Linked DNA regions of Homo sapiens: region 2 is linked to region 1. Evidence: promoter capture Hi-C in human tissues and cell types (Jung and others, 2019). All regions are on one chromosome and are shown on one strand. Each heading gives the region's core, a stretch centred on a gene start or on the middle of the fragment in contact. The rest is flanking DNA. Distances are from core to core; before and after follow the strand shown.

Region 1 (3,856 bases), core at 949-3,448:
CAGTACCTGTCAGCAATGTTGAGCCCAAGCCCAGGGTCAGTTGATCCCCTCCCAGCCTCACCCCAACAGGGACCAGGGACCCAGATCCCTGCCAACGTTAAAAAAACTCCCACATGGCACAGAAAGCCTCAACTAGCAGCAAGCTCTGCTGGGACAGTCATGTGGCTGGTCATTAGATGGGCACCTTCCCCCAGAATCTGGGGCAGGGCCCAGCCTGGACGGCAGCTCTACCCCGCCCTGGCTGTGTCATGTTGGGCACACACCTTAATAATTCTGAGCCTCAACTAACTCCTTGTAAAAAGTGCCCAGCTAATAGAGCAGGCAGTGAGCTCATCCGTGGAAACCCTGGGCATGTCTGGTCTGTACTAAGCATCATGTAAATGTCAGCTGCTTGTATTATTACAAATGGCATTATTACTATTCCTACTCTCACATCTTAAGAAACTCTGAAAAAATCAAAATCACCCTCTTGGTTTCTCCTCCCTGGGTACATTGTCCAGTGGTTTTAACTGGAGCCCCTGTAAGACAAAACATCACCTGTGTGAAGGTCAGGTTCATGGGTGGAGTTGGCAGTGGGCAGGGAAGTGTCTTAAAGAAAGCAGGGTCAAGAGTGCAGATAGGACCCACCTGGGGGTGACAGCATTCCATACCAGCTGGGGGATCTTAGGCAAGCACTTCACCTTGCTGAGCCTCAGTTTCCTCAGCTGTGAAGTGGGCATCAAGAGGCCTACTCCCCGGGGTGTTGCAGCGATGACAATACAGGTAAACTGCGTGGCACAGACCGCGTGCCTGCCGCACAGGCAACACAGTCACACACCCACCCCTTCTCCTGAGTGGGAACAGCCAGATCAGGGGCAGAAGCAGAAAATCAGGTGCATACAACCCAAGGAGCCCTGGGACAGCCGACAGTCACAACTCATGGCCTCAGTCTACTGGAAAGGACCACGCCCCGGTCCTGTTCTGCAGGCTCTCCTCACTGTCAGACATCAGACCCTGGATGGGGAAAGCAGGCTCACCCCATTCTACCAGGGCAAGAGGTCCAAAGGCCCAAAGGGGAAACTCACAACCCCACTCTCGGTTGCAAGGCAAGCTAGGCATTTGCACGGGATGCTTCTCTCAGCCAGGGCAGCAACTCACATTTTGGCTGAGAGACGCCCAATTCAAGTTGGACTGCGATGAGCAGGCATCAGCGAAGTCCTCCCTGGCTTGTCCACCAGCCCAGCCTTAGCAAGGGAGGCTCTGGGTCTGCAGCACATGAGGGACTAGCCCTGGCTCTGTCCACGTGGGACGACCGATCTCCCCCACACTCCAGAGTGAGCCCTCCGCTTCCAGGGTAACTCTCCCCACGCAGGAGTTATGCAGGTGCCCGCTCTGGCTAAAGAAACCCAGAAACGTGTTCCCCCAGACTGCAGAACCCTGACATGGCCCCAAGTCTCTACACATCCATTTGAAGCTCTGGAGACAGACAGAGCTGGGTTCCAGCCCTGGCTCTGCCCGGACAACTTACTTCACCTCTCTGACCCTCAGCATCTTCATCTGAAATGTGGGAAGAAGGCTACCTTGCAAATGAAATCACAGAGGGGCGTGGCCCTCTAAACTGCAGCTGAATGCACATGCCACTAGATCACCCTGGTCCTCCAGACATGAGTAGGACACATTCTAATGCCTGCCATATCCATGCCATCAGCTTTCCAGTTATTGACACCCACTACGAACACAGGAATGCAACAAATGCTAGTGAACTGCACGAGGAAGGCAAGAGAGTAAACAGCCTCTAAGGAGCAGGATTCTGCGCTCAGATCGGCGTTGAATCCTGGGTCCTTGGAGTCCTGGCTGCGAGGTCCTGGACAAATGAGTTGTCCTCGCTGAGCCTCAGTTTCTCCATCTGCAAAAGGGCATGTCGCAAAGCTGTGTTCCGCTATGCAAGCAGAGCACTCGGTGTGGTGCCAGCACACAGTCAGCCCTGCGAGGTGGCATCTGTCCTAGTTATTCCAGCTTCTCGGGGGGGTAACAGTTTGCAAAAGGGAGAAGCATGGAAATCACACTTACCTCCGCAGGGCTCCAATCACCAGCTCGCTGGCGTCTCCCGCGTCCAGCAGACGCGGTAGCAGCGGCGACAGCGCGGGCACAGCAGGCACAGCGGGCACAGCGAGCAGACAGCTCAATAGGAGCAGCCGGAGACGCCCTGGGATGCGAGTGGGTGCCGGGGCTCAGCGTACCGCCTCTTGTAGGCTCCCCGGAGCCCGGAGGCCACGCCCCCAGATCGCTGGCGGCGCTGGTAGGACCGAGCATCACCGGCCCCGCCCCCGGCCCCGCCCCGCAGGCTCAGCGGGCTGAAGGAGGCGGGGGGCAGCTGAGGCGCGGGCGCCGGGTGGGCGAGGAAGGCGGGGCCGCTGGCCTCCAGGGCCGGCTAGGGACAAGGAGACGCTCAGCTCCCTCGCCACTGGCCACACAAGCATAGTTTTCATTGAGCGCTTACTATGCGCCTGGCGCGGTGCCAAGCGCTTCCCACAAGGGGCTTGCAAATTTACCAAACCCCAGCTCTCTGCAGCTCAACTGGAAAATAGGAATAAGGAGGCGACCTCCCAGGATTTTAGCAAATGAAATCCGCAAGGGCTGGGCGCTGTGAACTGTGGCGCGGTGCAGAGTACACAGTTACTGAGGTGACTCCCACCCTCTACACGTGCTCAGAAAACTTAGGCCCCCTCTTCCCAATTTGCAGACGAAGAAAGGGAGACTTGTTTCCGGATGGGGCCGCTAGCGCGGGGATCCAGGCTCCGCACTTTACCTTCAACGACCCTAGGACGCGTTCCCAGGAATCCAGGGAGGTGGAAATCACCTCATTTCACAGATCCAGTAGCTGAGGCTTGGAGAAGAGCGTGCCCCAAGTCCCGTAGCTAGGAGCAGTGCAGCATGTTCATATCTCTTTTGCCCGGAGGCATTTAGCATTTTTAACCTGTGCAGGTACATACGGAAATCAATTTAGAGCCAGACGAAATCACCTTTGAAACAGGTAAATCCACGTTCCTTAAGAGCTAAGGGACTGCCCCGTGCTCCCGCCTCAGTCACAAAATGTGGACGGGTATGCAGGCACTGCGCGGTAAGGTGCTGGGGCCCAAGGGCAGGAGGGGGCCTGTCCGCACTGCTCATCTCCGCACCAAGACACCGGAATTAGCTCCTCCAGCATTAACTCATTCCCCAAATACCCATCGAGTCGCTCTGTGCCGGGCCCTGTGCTATACAGCAGGCACAAACAAGACACCTCCGGGATCTCAGAGTCTGGGGCCCCCACGAGCTAGGGCACGTGGGAGAAACAAGGATGGGGAATGGGTGGAACAAGGACTATGGAAGGCTGCCTGCGTGACGTGGACTCAAACAGGGAAGGCTTGCCTAAGATTTTGGTGCGGCTCAAATGCAGATACAGAATAATGCAGACTGGCCGGGCGCGGTGGCTCACACCTGTAATCCCAGCACTGTGGGAGTTTGAGGCGGGCGGATCACCTGAGATCAGGAGTTCGAAACCATCCCGGCCAACATGGTGACACTGTCTCTACTAAAAATACAAAAATTAGCCGGGCATGGTGGTGCATGCCTGTAGTCCCAGCTACTTGGGAGGCTGAGGCAGGAGAATCGCTCGAACCTGAGAGGCAGAGGTTGCAGTGAGCTGAGATGGCGCCATTGCACTCTAGCCTAGGAGACAAGAACAAAACTCCATCTCAAAAAGATAATAATAATGCAGATGTTTTCTGTTATCTTTTTTTCCTCTTTTTGTTTTACTTTTCTCAGTCTTTGAAGCATCATTCTTCAGAGGCACTCAACTGGCATGCAGTCATCCAATAATTAAGCACCTACTATG
Region 2 (3,856 bases), core at 836-3,335, 38 kb after region 1:
GTGTTCAGCAAATCAGTGCCTAGCAAATGATCCCGTATCCTGACCACAGAACAACAGGAGACACAACTAAATCCGTGAAACAAAATGCATGTACGACCAAGAAGCAAACGTACAATTTGAGTCCCACTGGAAAAAAATGTACACTTGCTCATTAAAATGATGTAACATGTCTTACTGAGGTGGGGGATGAGCAAAGGGAGGGAAACAATCAGAAAAGAGAATGAAGCATTTGGTCACTAGTTCATAAAGGAACATCACCATGAGGTAAAGCCAGCAGATGCCATCGGGTGCATTTCATTTTCGAGCAAGTTAACTTTTCCCCAAAAGGTGCAAATAAGATGGGAACGGCCAGTCTAAAAGATGAATAACACTAAAACAAACAAACAAACAAACAAACAAAAACAACAAAAAAAACCCCAATTCCTAGGAAGCCAGAGAAAATGTCTGAAGAAGGCAGAACAGTGTCTGCTCGGTGACTTTTGCTGTGACTGATTTTAAAGGAAAAACATGCCGGGCGTGTTGGCTCATGCCTGTAATCCCAGCACTTTGGGAGGCCGAGGTGTATGGATCACGAGGTCAGGAGTTCAAGACCAGTCTGGCCAACATGGCGAAACCCCGTCTCTACCAAAAATACAAAAATTATCTGGTGTGGTGGCAGGTGCCTATAATCCCAGCTACTCGAGAGGCTGAGGTAGGAGAGTCACTTGAACCCAGGAGGTGAAGGTTGCAATGAGTTGAGATTATGCCATTGCATTCCAGCCTGGACAACAAGAGCAAGACTGTCTCAGAAAACAAACAAACAAACGAACAAACAAAAAACAATAAAGGAAACACAAAACACTTCGTGTAGAGTTGGCTATTACCACTTGGCCTTGCTAGACACGGATTTTAAAAACACTAACATTTTGGTCTAATCTCTTTTAAGTCCACTGACCCTCAGGAAATTGGTATAGAGATACTGTCTTCACTAGGCTCAGTCAAGATATTTTTCCTTCTTGAGCCAGAGAAGTACCAGAAAAACTGTGAGTCTTCTGTCTCTTGCTGTTTTTAGTTCTTTTGATGCACTCAGCACTTCCCAAGAGAAATGAAGCCAAGAGACTGCTGTGTCCACACTGCTACAACTTGCTCATTCTCATTGACTCATGAACGTGAGTTGGCTGTACAATACTAGCTCACTGGTTTATTGGGTTATTTCCCATAGTTCAAAAGCCACTGACTTGGACTATGCTTGTCACTTTGTAACCAGTTGGCCTGGTCAAGTATAAGCAGTCTATGACAGCAATAATCAGAAACGTCACCAAATAAAAGACATTCTAAGATGATGCCTTTGCTGACTGCAAAGTTCCTGCTCACGTTGCCCACACATTAGACTAGGATGGTATGACCAATGACATCAAGCAATGAAAGCAGGGGCTGGGCACGGTGCCTCACGCCTGTAATCCCAGCATGTTGGGAGGCCGAGGCAGCTGGATCACCTGAGGTCAGGAGTTCGAGACAAGCTTGACCAACATGGTGAAACCTCGTCTCTACTAAAAATACAAAATTAGCCGGGTGTGGTGGCACATGCAGAACAATCGCTTGAACCTGGGTGGTGGAGGTTGCGGTGACCTGAGATCGCACCGCTGCACTCCAGCCTGGGCAACGAGGGCAAAACTCCATCTCAAAAAAAAAAAAAAAAAAAAGAGAGAGAGAGAGAAATGAAAGCAGAATGCCACTGTGAGCCACTTGGGTGGCTGAACCATAGTTACACCAGTGGAGGCCAGAATGACCTCCATTCTCCATCCTGCCTCAAACACACAGTGGCTTGCGCTTCCTTGGCTAGTGGACAAATAACATACCAACCAGGTAAACTTCATGACATCTTCCCTGTAAGAGAACTTCCAAGTCTTGTTGTCAACAACTGACAAATGCGAGGAAAATCTCCCTATAACATACTAAAAATGTAACCATTCACTGCTTTAAATGCCACCTACAAAGGCATGTTAAATGATAATGAAGGAAAATCACTAAGTCTGTAGCCTCAGCACCAAGGTTAATGAGCAAAGTTCCCGAAGTAAATAACCTAAAGTTAGGAGACCGTACTATGAAACTTACAAAAACATTAAACGTTGCAACATAAAATGGAAACGTTGTGCGTTAGGGTTCTCTAGAGGGACAGAACCTATAGGTAGATGTATATATAAAGGGGAGTTTATTAAGGAGTATTGACTTACAAGAAGGGGTCCCACAGTAGGCCGTCTGCAGGCTGAGGAGCAAGGAAGCTAATCCAAGTCCCAAAACGGAAGAACTTGGAGTCCGATGTTCAAGGGCAGGAAGCATCCAGCACAGGAGAAAGATGGAGGCCACAAGACTAGTCTAGTCTTTCCACATTCTCCTGCCTGCTTTTATTCCGGCCACGCTGGCAGCTGATTAGATGGTGCCCACCCAGATTGAGGGTGGGTCTGCCTTTCCCAGCCCACTGACACAAATGTTAATCTCCTTTGGCAACACCCTCACAGACACACCCAGAAACAATACTTTGCATCCTTCAATCCAATCAAGTTGACACTCCGTATTAACCATCGCAAGTTGAGTGCAAAATCTCAAGAACAGCTAACAGGGACAGACCCAAAATTCACTGGCACCCTAGAAAATGTCTGGATTTGCTAGAATCACCTAATTCTGTATCCCTGGGCCAATTATTCACTTGAGGGACCATATTCTGCCCTGCTCTGGGCTTCCCTGTCTGTGGCTGGGTGTGTGCTGATCCTGCCTGAGCAAAACAAAACTTGGGCAGCCACACGTTCATCACGAATACAGCCTCAGGAGTCAGGCGGCATGAGGTTATGGGCTCCGTTTGTGTCGCCCCCAGTATTCATCTTTGAAGCCTGAACCCCCGGCGGAATACTAGGAAGTGGGGCCTTTTAGGTATAGATGAAATCACAAAGGTGGAGGCCCACAGTGGGATGAGTGTCCTTGTAAGAGAAACAGACCAGGGTTCACTCTGCCCTGTGAAGACATAGTGAGCAAGCGGCTGTCTCCAGGCCAAGAAGCAGGCCTTCCCCAGACAGGTCTGCTGGCATCTGCTCTTGGACTTCTAGCCTCTAGAACTGTGAGAAATAAATGTTTGTTGTCTAAGCCACTCAGACTATGGTTAACAGCCCAAAACAACACAGGGGTTTTGCAGGCTGTCTCGCTAGCACTAGCTTGCATCTTTCTATGAGCAGCAGCAAGATTTATTGTGAAGAGCAAAAGAACAAAGCTTCCAGTGTGGAAGGGGACCCAAACGGGTTGCCACTGCTGGCTGGGGCGGCCAGCTTTTATTCCCTTATTTGTCCCCTCCCATGTTCTGTTTTTGTCCTATCAGAGTGCTCTTTTTTCAGTCCTCCCTGTGATTGGCTGCTTTTAGACTCCTGCTGATTGGTGCGTTTTAAGAACCGATTGGTGCATTTTACAAACCTCTTGCTAGCTACAGAGTGCTGGTTGGTGCGTTTTACAATCCTAGCTACAAAGTGCTGATTGGTGCATTTTACCATCCTCTTAGAGGACAGAAAAGTTCTCCAAGTCCCCACTTGACCCAGGAAGTCCAGCTGGCTTCACCTCTCAATATGAGTTATAATTCAGCCAAGCAAATCACAATAGAATTACAAAGGGTAAGTAGGTTAGACGGACAACACTTGTACAGAAAGTTTAGGAAGCTCTGAACCCCAGATGGCACCAGGCTACAATCAGAAATACCAGATGGTAAGAGCAAGAACTTGAGAGAAAGGCTCAGACCACGTTAAAACCCCTTCTCTGTAGATCTCAGGACACCACAATCATCCACACAGGGCCAGAAGCCGGGGCACGGGCACCCTTGCACGTGACATCCCTCTCT

What was found. The method cuts DNA at HindIII sites, captures the fragments that hold promoters and counts their contacts. A contact is called where the count stands out against the background at its distance.
Region 2: a fragment that was not itself captured here is called in contact with the fragment with the promoter of CRISPLD2 in region 1 in 7 of the 25 tissues and cell types used here (IMR-90 fibroblasts, bladder, mesenchymal stem cells and 4 more).

What each region holds. Positions count from the first base shown.
Region 1 is chr16:84,818,327-84,822,182 of GRCh38, reverse strand. CRISPLD2 (cysteine rich secretory protein LCCL domain containing 2) reads right to left here and starts at 2,198. Exons shown (of 15, transcript NM_031476.4): 1 at 2,050-2,198. RefSeq lists a silencer at 2,236-2,425. The HindIII fragment of the contact is 19,202 bases long and covers 1-3,856 here.
Region 2 is chr16:84,780,324-84,784,179 of GRCh38, reverse strand. It overlaps a transcript of LOC105371378 not described here. Among named protein-coding and RNA genes, the nearest start is that of CRISPLD2, 38 kb to the left of the region's middle. The HindIII fragment of the contact is 6,097 bases long and covers 1-3,856 here.